Linked DNA regions of Homo sapiens: regions 1 and 3 are each linked to region 2. Evidence: promoter capture Hi-C in human tissues and cell types (Jung and others, 2019). All regions are on one chromosome and are shown on one strand. The core of a region is centred on a gene start or on the middle of the fragment in contact, and the rest is flanking DNA. Distances in the headings are between cores, read along the strand shown. Region 1 overlaps NTSR1 (neurotensin receptor 1). Region 2 holds the start of GID8 (GID complex subunit 8 homolog). Region 3 has its middle 11 kb from the start of LINC01749.

Evidence for each region. The method cuts DNA at HindIII sites, captures the fragments that hold promoters and counts their contacts. A contact is called where the count stands out against the background at its distance.
Region 1: a contact is called between a fragment that was not itself captured here and the fragment with the promoter of GID8 in region 2, in 2 of the 25 tissues and cell types used here (adrenal gland and spleen).
Region 3: a contact is called between a fragment that was not itself captured here and the fragment with the promoter of GID8 in region 2, in 4 of the 25 tissues and cell types used here (H1 embryonic stem cells, IMR-90 fibroblasts, dorsolateral prefrontal cortex and 1 more).

What each region holds. Positions count from the first base shown.
Region 1 is chr20:62,750,814-62,754,429 of GRCh38, forward strand. The region is part of intron 1 of NTSR1 (neurotensin receptor 1); the gene reads left to right. Among named protein-coding and RNA genes, the nearest start is that of NTSR1-AS1, 17 kb to the left of the region's middle. The HindIII fragment of the contact is 7,649 bases long and covers 1-3,616 here.
Region 2 is chr20:62,935,746-62,939,589 of GRCh38, forward strand. It overlaps GID8 (GID complex subunit 8 homolog), which reads left to right and starts at 2,402. Exons shown (of 5, transcript NM_017896.3): 1 at 2,402-2,508. It also overlaps a transcript of DIDO1 not described here. RefSeq lists silencers at 1,603-1,652, 1,923-1,972, 2,343-2,572, 2,643-2,772 and an enhancer at 2,468-3,136. The HindIII fragment of the contact is 10,021 bases long and covers 110-3,844 here.
Region 3 is chr20:63,088,751-63,092,297 of GRCh38, forward strand. No RefSeq gene overlaps it. Among named protein-coding and RNA genes, the nearest start is that of LINC01749, 11 kb to the left of the region's middle. The HindIII fragment of the contact is 3,451 bases long and covers 57-3,507 here.

The sequences.
Region 1 (3,616 bases), core at 278-2,777, 190 kb before region 2:
CGATGGCGGTGATCATTTCACAATGTATACATAGATGACAACATCACATTGTACACAGTCAATAGATACAAATATTTTTGCGATGGGCGTCTCACTCTGTTGCCCAGGCTGGAGTGCAGTGGCGAAGTCATAGCTCACTGTAGCCTCAAACTCCTGGGCTCAAACAATCCTCCCATCTCAGCCTCCCAAGTAGCTGGCACTATAGGCGTATGCCAGCATGCCTGGATGATTTTTTTTAGTTTTTGTAGAGATGGGGTCTCACTGTGTTGCCCAGACTGGTCTCAAACTCCTGGCCTCAAGGGATCTTCCTGCCTCAGTCTCCCAAAATACTGTGATTACAGGAATGAGCCACGGTACCTGGCCAATAGATACAATTTTTATTTGTCAATTATCCCTCAATAAAGCTGGGGGAAAAGGTTAAAAATATATACATTTAAATTTAAAACTTCCATGATTTCTTATAGTAATGTTACGGTTTTTGGTTTTAGGTTTTAATCTTCTTACCATGTGGAATTTTTTTGGGGTAAGATCTCTATGAGTTAGGGTACTAACTCCAGGAACTAAGTCAAATTGTCTTATCCCTTAAGAAAAGGAATATTTATTTCACTCAAGACACACTGAAAGTCCAAGAATAATAGCTGCAGGCGCAGCTTGACCCAGGAGCACAAACAATGTCATGGGGTGCCCCGCTTCACCGGTGCTGGCTTTATTCTTAGGCAGGTCTTCTCTAAAAGGTAGGAAAACGGCACTGACGGCCACGGATGCATTTCCTGCTCAGTGAGCCCAGGCAAAGCTGGTGTCTAGCAAAGGTTTGGGGCTGGCCCTCATCAGACAAATGTGACTGATGCAAATGTTTGGCTGACCTGTCCAATGAGGGCCTACCCAGGCCTTTTGGGATGTGTTGATTGGCCAGGTCTGGGCCACATGCCAGTGGGATGGAGGGTGCACGGCTCCCCAGGGGAAGGAGGCGGGTGGGACAGGGGCCCTGAGGACCCAGCTTCCTGTGGTCCAGGCCGTCAGCTGTCCAGCGCCATGCCTGGGTGGCCAGTCTTCTCCCCGATGATCTGGATGCTGTCTCCATCACAGATGGAGCTTCTGTCTGATCTGGCACTGTCGATGCCAAATTCTCCTCATTAAGGTCACTCTCAGTGACACTCAGGTACATCCCAGTGGCTGGCAAGGCTGACGCTCCCTTGTCCTAGCGACCTGCCTTTCAAGAGCCTTTCTGGCCATTCTGAGACTATTTCCCACTTGAACTGTAGAGTCCATGTGTCTATGCACAACAGCTCTCGTGTTTTATAGGGACTGGATGCACAGACGTGATCTCAACGGGTCCTTCTGTCCAGGAAGGGGCCTGTCCTTCCCCTCGCTCAGTCCTCCCCTCACCTCCCCTCACCCCCAGCAGCATCGCAGGCTTTCCTCCGAGTCCCCGCGCTGCCGATGGACGTGCTCCCTTTGCTTGTTGTGGAGGTGGGGGGCAGCTCCTTACCCAGAGCGGGAGAGATTACAGGAAAGGACGGCGCAAGCCAAAGCCCCTGCTTCCAGCTGTGCGTCTGGGAAGAGAAGGCCGGCCCCAGGAGTCGGGGTGCATTCCCCTCACCCCCCAATCCTACTCGGCTTCAGTCTCCAGGGTGGGCAGGTGGGGGAGGCGGGGGAGGGCCAGACTTCCTCTGCAAGGCCCCGCCTCTGTCCCCACACGTGGCCCTGCGGCAGACTCTGTTCCCTCCCTCTGGAAACGGCAGGATCCTCCAACGGGGGCAGCCAGGGGGCCGGGGCCAGACCCTACAACCCACCAGCCCCCAGAGGTAGCTATTTTTGCAGCCAGCCGTGTTGGTGAGGTTGGTATTTTAAATGTTTTGACATTTAAAATCTGTGTTGGATACATTGGTGCTGTTTAAACTATCCCCGGGCTGCGGTGACTCACAGGGAATGGGTTTATCTCCTGAGGCTGGGCCTGGCCTCCCCTGTCCCCGCTCCCAGCAGCCGGAGTGGGAAGAGGGAGTTTTTACCTGCCCCCAGTCTCACCAGCACCTTGTTGTCCTGCAGAAGGTGGACTTCGGCCAGAGCAGGAGAACAGGAGGGACGCGGGACGGCCTCAGATCCGGACGCCCAAGCAGGGGAGGGCAGAACAGACCCGCCACCCAGCCAGGGTCAGCAGCGGTGGTGGTGGCTCTCAGGAGCCCACACAGGTGGCACGAGCAAGGGGCGCTGGGCTGGCAGGTGCAGGATGCTGCCTCCCGGGGGTTTGAGTGCCCCCTCTCCATGCATGTCCTCTGATCTGTTAGCAGAACTCTGCTCAAATGGAATGTGAGGGTAAACTCAGGCCGCCTCCTTCCTGAAGGCCTCTGAGTGCTTCTGAGTGGAGCCGGGAGCTTCGATGGGAGCAGGAAGGACCTCCAGAGGTGCCTCAGCCGGTGCCCAGAGGGGGCCAGGGAGAAAACCTGCCGACATTCCCACGACCCCAGCACCTCTCAGTGGCTGCCCTGTCCCATGGCCACCGCCGCCTTCATTAGCGAGACACGGCGAGGATTGTCCTCACCGGGACCATCCTGACTTGGACTGTTGAGGCCATGTGGCTCTGCCCTCCCTTGTGGCAGGAGGTTGGGAGGGAGGTGGCCCCTGCAGCCCAGCCCAGGGAATCCCACGGCAGATACCCCTGGACTTTCTACCGCAATCACAGCCACCAGCCACAGAGCTAGTACAGGCCGCTTCTCCAAGACACCCAAAAGCTTCTTGGAATCAGAAATTCAGCATGAGGATCCCGGGCAGCTTGGCAGAGAGGGGGCAGCCTCCGTCCCCGGCACAGGATCGAACCCGCAAGTGTGGCAGCCAAAGACGCCAAGATCTGGCTTGCAGAGAAGAGCATCTTACAAAGAACCGAAGGCCAAGGAAGATTTTAAAGCCATTGATGGCTGTTATTCCACTGCCCCAGGGAGGGGTGCCGGTTTCTCCATTGGAAGCCGGGCCATGGCCGTCCTGGCTGGTTCTGCTGCTGCCAGTCCGCAGACATGTCCCCTTCCTGTTCTGAGCAGCAGCTCTGGTTGAGGAGGAGGCTAGGCCACTGCCCATCTGGGGAAGTCACAGCCACCCTGCCAGTGCCTACAGAGTCACGTCTCAGCCAGGAGTCGCAGAAGGAGCGGGACTCAGCTCAGGCCAGGCTCAAATCCAGGCACAGCCCCCCTTGCGCTGGAGTCTTTGGGCAGGACCTCTACCCTGTCCAGGACTCGGATCAGGTGCAGGGTAGCTATGATGACCCAGCCTTGTGGGTTGATGTGGAAGCTAGAGGTGGGGAGTGGGGGCTCCAGGTGCTGATAACAGGGGCCCTATACCTTTCAATGCTCTGAGAGGTAGCTGGGGTGGGAGGGAGGAAGGGGCCTCTATTAGTGTGAGCTGTCAGGACCTAGGAGAACTGTCTGCACACAGCTACAAGGCCAGGGCTTGACTCTCCCACAGGACGGGCCTTGGGGTGGGGCAGCCACGTGCTTGTGGGCCTCAGCCATGCACACAACATGTCCAGACCTGGGAACCTAGAGCCTAGGGCCTTTGCCACAGCTGGGACACCCCAGTGGTTGTGTTCCTTGCTGTGTACAGGCGGGACCCTCGGGAGGGACTCATG
Region 2 (3,844 bases), core at 1,152-3,651:
TAGAAGGATAGAGTCAATGAGTGATGGCTTTTGGAGAGATCACCCTGTCTGCTATGTGAGAGGTAGTGACAGGACTTCTGGAGCTCAACAGGAGTTACGGAGACATCCTGGCAATCCAAAAAGCAAAGATGATGGCTTCCACGTTATGGTGGAAGAGGCTGGGAAACAACACAAAGGAGCCAGTTTCTAGAGAGGATTAAGGAGGGGGCTCGAGCAGGACTTGGTAACCGGTTGGCTGTTGGGAGGAGGAGCATTAACCTGTGACCCACAGGCAGGCACTGAGACAGCCTCTTTGGACTGGAATGTTAAGGAATGTCGCCTTAAGGCGCTAGCACTCAAGCTTTCTGCTCGTGCATCCCCTTGCACACTTTCTCCTTGACGTTCAGGCTGGGCATGGTGGCTGACGCCTGTAAACCCAGCACTCCCAGAGGCCGAGGCGGGAGGATGGCTTGAGCCCAGGAGATCGAGACCAGCCTGGGCAAGAAGGCAAGACCCCGTCTCTAAAAAACTTTAAAAAATAAAAATAGGCCGGATGCGGTGGCTCATGACTGTAATCCGAGCACCTTGGGAGGCCGAGGTGGGTGATCATTTGAGGTCAGGAGTTCGAGACCAGCCTAGCCAACATGGTGAAACCCCACCCGTACTAAAAATACAAAATAAGTAGCCGGGCGTGGTGGCGGGTGCCTGTAGTTCCAGCTACTCGGGAGGCTGAGGCAGGAGAATCACTTGAACCCAGGAGGCGGAGGTTGCAGTGAGTCGAGATCATGACAGTGCACTCCAGCCTGGGCAACAAAGTGAGACTCCTTCTCAAAAAATAGAATAAAATAAAATCAAAATAGGCCGGGAGCGGTGGCTCACGCCTGTAATCCCAGCACTTTGGGAGTCCGAGGCGGGCGGATCACGAGGTCAAGACACTGAGACCAGCCTGACCAACAAGGGGAAACCCCGTCTCTACTAAAAATACAAAAATTAGCTGGGCGTGGTGGTGCGCCCCTGTGGTCCCAGCTACTCGGGAGGCTGAGGCAGGAGAATCGCTTGAACCCGGGAGGCGGAGGTTGCAGTGAGCCGAGATGGCGCCACTGCGCTCCAGCCTGGGCGAGAGTGAGACTTCGTCTCAAAATAAATAACTAAATAAAGACCAATAACTGTTTCCCATAGGGTTATGTAGTTGCAAATGAAAAAATTACTGGCATGTACTGCCTCTGCATATGAAGCATAATTTTGTCAAGACCTTATACCTGCAGATTTAGCTCTTTCGATTAACGGAAAATGTCCAAAATCAGTCTCCTCCAACCTATTTGCCGAACTGGACTTACTGTCGCTGAGTAGACCGACCGACATAGCTTACACGTTGTTCAGCTCGCTTGTAAGCAAACACACGAAACCACCTCACCCCTGACTTCAGAAAGAAGCCGTCCCGTGAATTCCTCACAGATGAAATCAGGAGCTGCCCCTCAAGGACTCTATTTCTTCCTTCGGCTCTATCAAATATTTTAAGGTACTTCCCAGCAACGGAAACATGGGACCCTGCAATGACAGACTTCGCATTCCTCCTGAGCGGACAGGCAATAAGCAAGTAAACGCGCAAATACCCAAGTGCGGCCTCAACCCGCGCTCCTGCCGGGAGGGTCTCCAGTCACCGAGTAACCCCGGCCCTGCCCCGCGCCGCCGCCGGGACTCCGCCCCGCAAGCAAGTGGGGTCTCCTTTGTCCCGCGCGCCCTGGCCGCGTCCCGCCCTTCGGCGTAGCCCATGGGAGGCGCCCTGAGGGCAGGGCCCTTCTGATTCCCCACCTGGCCTCGAGTGAGGACGCGCTCAACAACATCTCGAGTAAAGCGGGGGAACTCGCTTCAACGCGCAGACAGCACAGCTCTCGCCCAGCCCGGTCTCGGGTCAGCCGTCTCTCCCTGGACCTCAGGGACACTAGCCCTGGAAGGCCGCCGGTCGGGAGGGGACTCCCTCCCCGTCTGAGGGGCGGCCGCGGACACCCGGCGCCTTTCCCCCGCCCCACCCCGTGCGGCCTCACGCAAACGACAGGAAAAAAGCTGGGACCTTCGCCTCCGACTCAGTGTAGACGTCGCCATCCCGGTTCCAGATTTCCGCGCTCCAACGCCTCCGCAGCAGCCATCTTGCCAGAGGGCCGACGCCTTTTGACTCTGGCGCCAACCCGTAGTGCGTGGTCGCCGCGAGGGGAGTTCTGCGCAAGTACGGAAGCTGAGGTTCCGCGCTTCCGGGAGGCCGTCCGCCCCGCCCCCTCGCGGGGGCGCTTCATTGGTCATCGGCTCGCGCTCTCGCGCTCTCTTGCTGTCGCGAGAGGTGCTGAGGGGCGGCCTCCGGTGCGCCTGCCCTCCCGCTCCCCGCCCCCGCCCCCGCCCCCGCCTCCGCCGCGGCCCCCACCTCTGCCTCCTTCTACTCGGGCGCCCCGGCGGCCGCCACCTCTCCCCAGCCCAGGAGAGGCTGCGGAGCCGCAGCCGCCCAGACCGCGCAGCGCGGGAGGCAGGTTCCGCACGGTAAGATGGCGGCGGCGGGCCCGGGCGGCCGGGCCGAGCGTCTCCCGGGGCCGGGCCGGGCGGGCAGGCGGGATGTGGCCGGGGTGCGCGCCGCCCCCGCTCTGGGGGCCTTGGAAGCGCCGGCGCTGGCAGGTGCGGAATTGGGGCGCGCAGTGAGTCCAGGCCCGGACGGCCGCCCCGCGCCGGTGCCCAGGGGGCAGTCAGGGCTCAGCCTCCAGGCGCGCGGCCTCAGGCGCTGGTGTTCTGGGGCGGTCCCGGCCAGCCTGAGGGGCGGCGGTAGCTGTCTCTGTGGAGGAGCGACGTCCGTAACGAAGTCTTTTTAATAAAATCTGCTGCTTTAAAGCAGAAACCGAGCGGGTGAGGATGTAAAGTGTGGCATGGAAAGTAGGAGTCTTCAGCACACGGGTGTTTTCTTCTGCTGAATCTTTTTATGCTGGAGTTTGAGACTACCGAGTTCTTCCTGCTAACAGGACTGGCCAGTTCTACAAAGTTGTTGCTTTTCATGGGCGCACGTAACTGCCCGGAGTGGAAGCGCTGTGAGTGCCGATCACCGAATGGGCCGAGAGAAAAGGTGCCTTTTCCTAGGGAGCTCTTAACGTTGGTCCTAGGGCCGGGCGCGGTGGCGGAGGTCGAAGTGGGCGGATCACTTGAGCCCGCGAGTTCGAGACCAGCCGTGGCAACAGCGAGACTCCCTTCTCTGCTAAAAATAAAAAAATTAGCCAGGCAGAGTGGTGCGCTCCTGTTGTCCCAGTTACTCTGGAGGCTGAGGTGGGAGGATCGCTTGAGCCCAGGAGGTCGAGGCTGCGGTGAGCCATGATCGCGCCACTGCCCTCCAGCCTGGGCGACAGAGCGAGGCTCTGTCTCAAAAAAAAAAGAAAAAGAAAATGAGTCCTTAAGTTACCATTAATTGTCGTGAATAAAAAGTTGGTCTCAGTGAGTTTTGCAGTTGACAACGAAAGATGGGTGTTCGTGTGTGACAGCGACTCCTGGTTTCTCCTCCACTTTACCTGCCGCTCCACATCAAGTTTTCTTCTGCTGGTGCCACTTTCTCTGCTTTACCTTCAAGGTTGGCATCCTCCAAGTAATGGCGATTCTCATTCCCTATCTACGCTCTTCCTATGGTCTTTGCTGAATTCTTGGCTTTAAATATCCCTGTGCCCCAGCACCGCCCCCCCCGCCCCTTATTTCACTAATTCATGTTTTCAGCTCTGAGCTCAGGATCTGTAATTCAGACACCTGCTTGATTTCTCCAGACGCATGTCTAATAGTCACGTCAAACTTGCCCTGCTTCTCAAACCTGTTCTTCTTCCAGTCCTTCCTCCTTATTTGTGGCCCC
Region 3 (3,547 bases), core at 532-3,031, 150 kb after region 2:
TAGAAGTAATTGAATAGTAACTATCATGTAATTGCAGGGTAATCACATGGTTATTTTTGCTTTGCAAATTAAAGTGTTACTATGAGATTGAACAATTATGCGGGGTAATTATACCCTGATTCACATGCTAACTCCAAGCAAAATCATCAGGTAAACCCTAGGGTGGGTAGTTACTGTATAAATATGGAGTCGTTGTGACCACATCATTATACATTAGTGGGAGAGTAGCTGGCCTCCTTTGGGATAAGCCTCCCACTGCACCTGACCCTGACTTCCCTACTGAGCACGGCTAGACCCCGAGAGCAACACCGGAAGCCCAGAGGCAGGGCGCCCCGAGACCTCGCACCAGGGGACCTGCTTGATGGGGCCCGTTTTTGAGCATGAAGCACATTCTGAGAAAGTTGTTCTTTTCCTGACACGCTGGGGTTTCGGCAGGGCTGGCTGCCAGCACATTAGGGTGAGAACTGGCTGCAGAGACTGCCTCTGTCACAACCTGGCCTGCAGGCTGGGCCACCTGCACCACACCTGTGCCCCAGGCTGTTCAACTCACTTGTGACTTCGGCCTCACGGCAACCCCACAGGTAACCCCAAGAGCGGGAGGCACCTGTGTGTCAGTCACGCCACCCCCAGGCCTGGAAAAGTACCAGCACCTGTCAGGCAGGCCTGCGTCCTCCCGGAACTTAGTCACTCACACATATGCTGCGATGAGCCACACCCACCCAAGATGCCATCTCTGTCCCTGGGTGCAGGTGACCAGACAGAGGCTGGGGAGATCGTCCCTGGGTGCAGGTTACCAGACAGAGGCTGGGGAGATTGTCCCTGGGTGCGGGCGACCAGACGGAGGCTGGGGAGATCGTCCCTGGGTGCGGGCGACCAGACGGAGGCTGGGGAGATCGTCCCTGGGTGCGGGCGACCAGACGGAGGCTGGGGAGATTTACCCAAAGCCCCCGTTGTTATGCGGTGCAACACTCAGCTCCCAGTGTGCCCTCAGGACCGCGGGCCAGGCTCTCAGCCGTGCGCTGCTGGCATCTGGGACCGAGGGTCTTGGTGGGGGCTGCTCTGACTGTGGCAGCGTGGCAGCTTCCCCGGCCTCACCCATGGGATGGCGGTAGCATCCTCTCCCTATTATACGTTTAATTATAACAATTAAAAATATCTCCAGACACTGTCAAATGTCCCCCGGGGACAAACATTGACTGGTGATCTGGCTTTTACAGGAAAAGGTTGCCCACGCTGGGTCATGACTGGAGTATTGGCTCAAACCAAGTAGCTTCAGGAAATTGAAAAAGGGGATTGTGAGTGACTCAGGGAATTGATAAGTTAAACTATTTCCAATATACACTGGGTGCTATAAATTCATTATATGTATTAAACGCCAAGACCAGGAGTGCTCTGTAAGCCATCAGTGAGCTGCCAAGGTGGCGGGAGCCACATCTGGGAGCCCTCAGTCACATGTTCTGCTTGGGAAGTGCCTGGGGTTGAGGGGGCTGCACACAGTAGGCTCTCAGGCACACAGTAGGTGCTCAGGCATGTAGTAGATGCTCATGCCAGGCCACTGAGACTCATAGGCCCTGTCATCAGCTGAGCATGTTTCTTAGACGAAAGACCTGGCCGCTCCCCCTGCCTCGCTTTTTTTTTTTTTTTTTTTTTTGAGATGAAGTCTCACTCTGTCACTCAGGCTGGAGTGCGGTGGCACGATCTCTGCTCACTGCATCCTCCGCTTCCTGGGTTCAAGCAACTCTCCTGCCTCAGCCTCCTGAGTAGCTGGGACTGCAGGAGCATGCCACCAGCACGCCTGGCTAATTTTTTATATTTTTAGTAGAGACGTGGCTTCACAGTGTTAGCCAGGATGGTCTCGATCTCCTGACCTTGTGATCCGCCCACCTTGGCCTCCCAGGGTGCTGGGATTACAGGCGTGAGCCACTGCGCCAGGACCCCAAGGTGCTGGGATTACAGGCGTGAGCCACTGCGCCTGGCCCCCAAGATGCTTTTACATTTCCACTGGACCCTTGCGGGAGGCGTTGGCTGGGCCGCCCTCCAGGACACTTTGTTCCCTCTGCTCAGGGCATTCTCAAGGCCTCAGCGACACTCGGGCCAGCCTTCCCTTCCCCAGGACACCTGCCCGTTCCCATCCCTGGATGTCCCAGGCCCCAGGAACCCCTGTGCCAGCCATCCTGGCAGCCCACCTGCCCACCTGACACCCTCCCCACACCAGCCTGGGATCCACGGAAAGGCGCGGATGTGTCACCCTTGGGAGCCAAGGCTGCACTGACACCAGGGCCTGTTGTGACCTCAGTTTAAGGGCAGCAAAGCTGTGAGCCAGGTGAGGCTTCTTGGCCAGCTGGAGGCTCTCCTGGGACACGGTGGGGAGTTATTGGGGAGGGCCCAGCATCCCCTTGAAATAGAGTGTTGGGACCTGAAGCAAGAGTCAAGGATACCGGCCGTCCTGGCTGATGGCCCTGAGGCTGGTCTGAGTGCTGCCCTGAGGGGCTGGATGATCCCTGCAGCCTCCTCCCCTCTCGGGGCCTCCGTTAGGAGAGGGCCAGGAAGGTCCTTCCAGCCTCGGCATCCGTGTCTGCCTGTGGACAGAGGCAGGCCTCGCCCCTGGCCCGCCTTCCTTGTAACCTTGACCCCACGAGAGACGCTGGGTCGGGGCGTTGGTGGATGGTGCCCTGCCCTGCATCGCCCCAGGGCGTTGGTGCCCTGCCCTGCATCACCAGCAGCAGCACTCTCCTTGATTAAGCAGCAAGGCAAGGTGGGTGCTGACTCGGAGTCACTCACAGACCGGAAGGCGAATTGCAGAGCCGCACCCTGTAATTTAGTCAAAATGAAAAGGGCAGGAAGGAAAGGTCAATACTGTTTTAAATTAGTCTAACTGCTCCTTTATGTAGAGGACACTGTTGCTCCAAAGGACTGGCGATTTAGCAGTTGGGGAGAAAAGGTCAAGCTTCTTGGTCCTAGGGCAGGTGATAAAAGCCAGTTAAATTTTTGGAAATCATACCTGCAGGTTGTCAATTCTGGCAAATTCTGTACAAATTAGTCTACTCAAAGGCTTGAAGAGAAGGCGTTGCAAACCTCACTGGCAAGCCAGGTGGACTGGGGTGGGATCACCCATACAGGCATGGGGAGGGGAAGGCCTGGGGCTGGGGTGGGGGAGACGGTCAGGCCCTGGCCCGCTCCATCCAGTTTCCTGCAGACCGGATCCCAGGCCCTCCTCACAGAGCACCCCACAGAAGGGCTGCCCCGCAGGGAGGCGCTGCAGAGGGCACCCCAGGTGTCCCCTTGCACTTGGGGTGTGCAAATCTGATCCTTGTCTGCATGAGCGGACAGAGACGGTGCCGGAACGACCCTGTTCAATGTGTAGCACCAACTCCCGGCCACCCACACCAGACACCCTCACCCCCAGTCTGGGGTTTCTGGAGAAGGGGACCAGGGGCGGCTCCCTTCTCCCCGCAGGCTTGCAGGGCTGCTCCTGACCTGTGCTGCAGCTCCTGGCTCCTGTGGGGCCCAGGTTCCCGGGGCTGCGTGGGAGACACAGAAGTGGGGG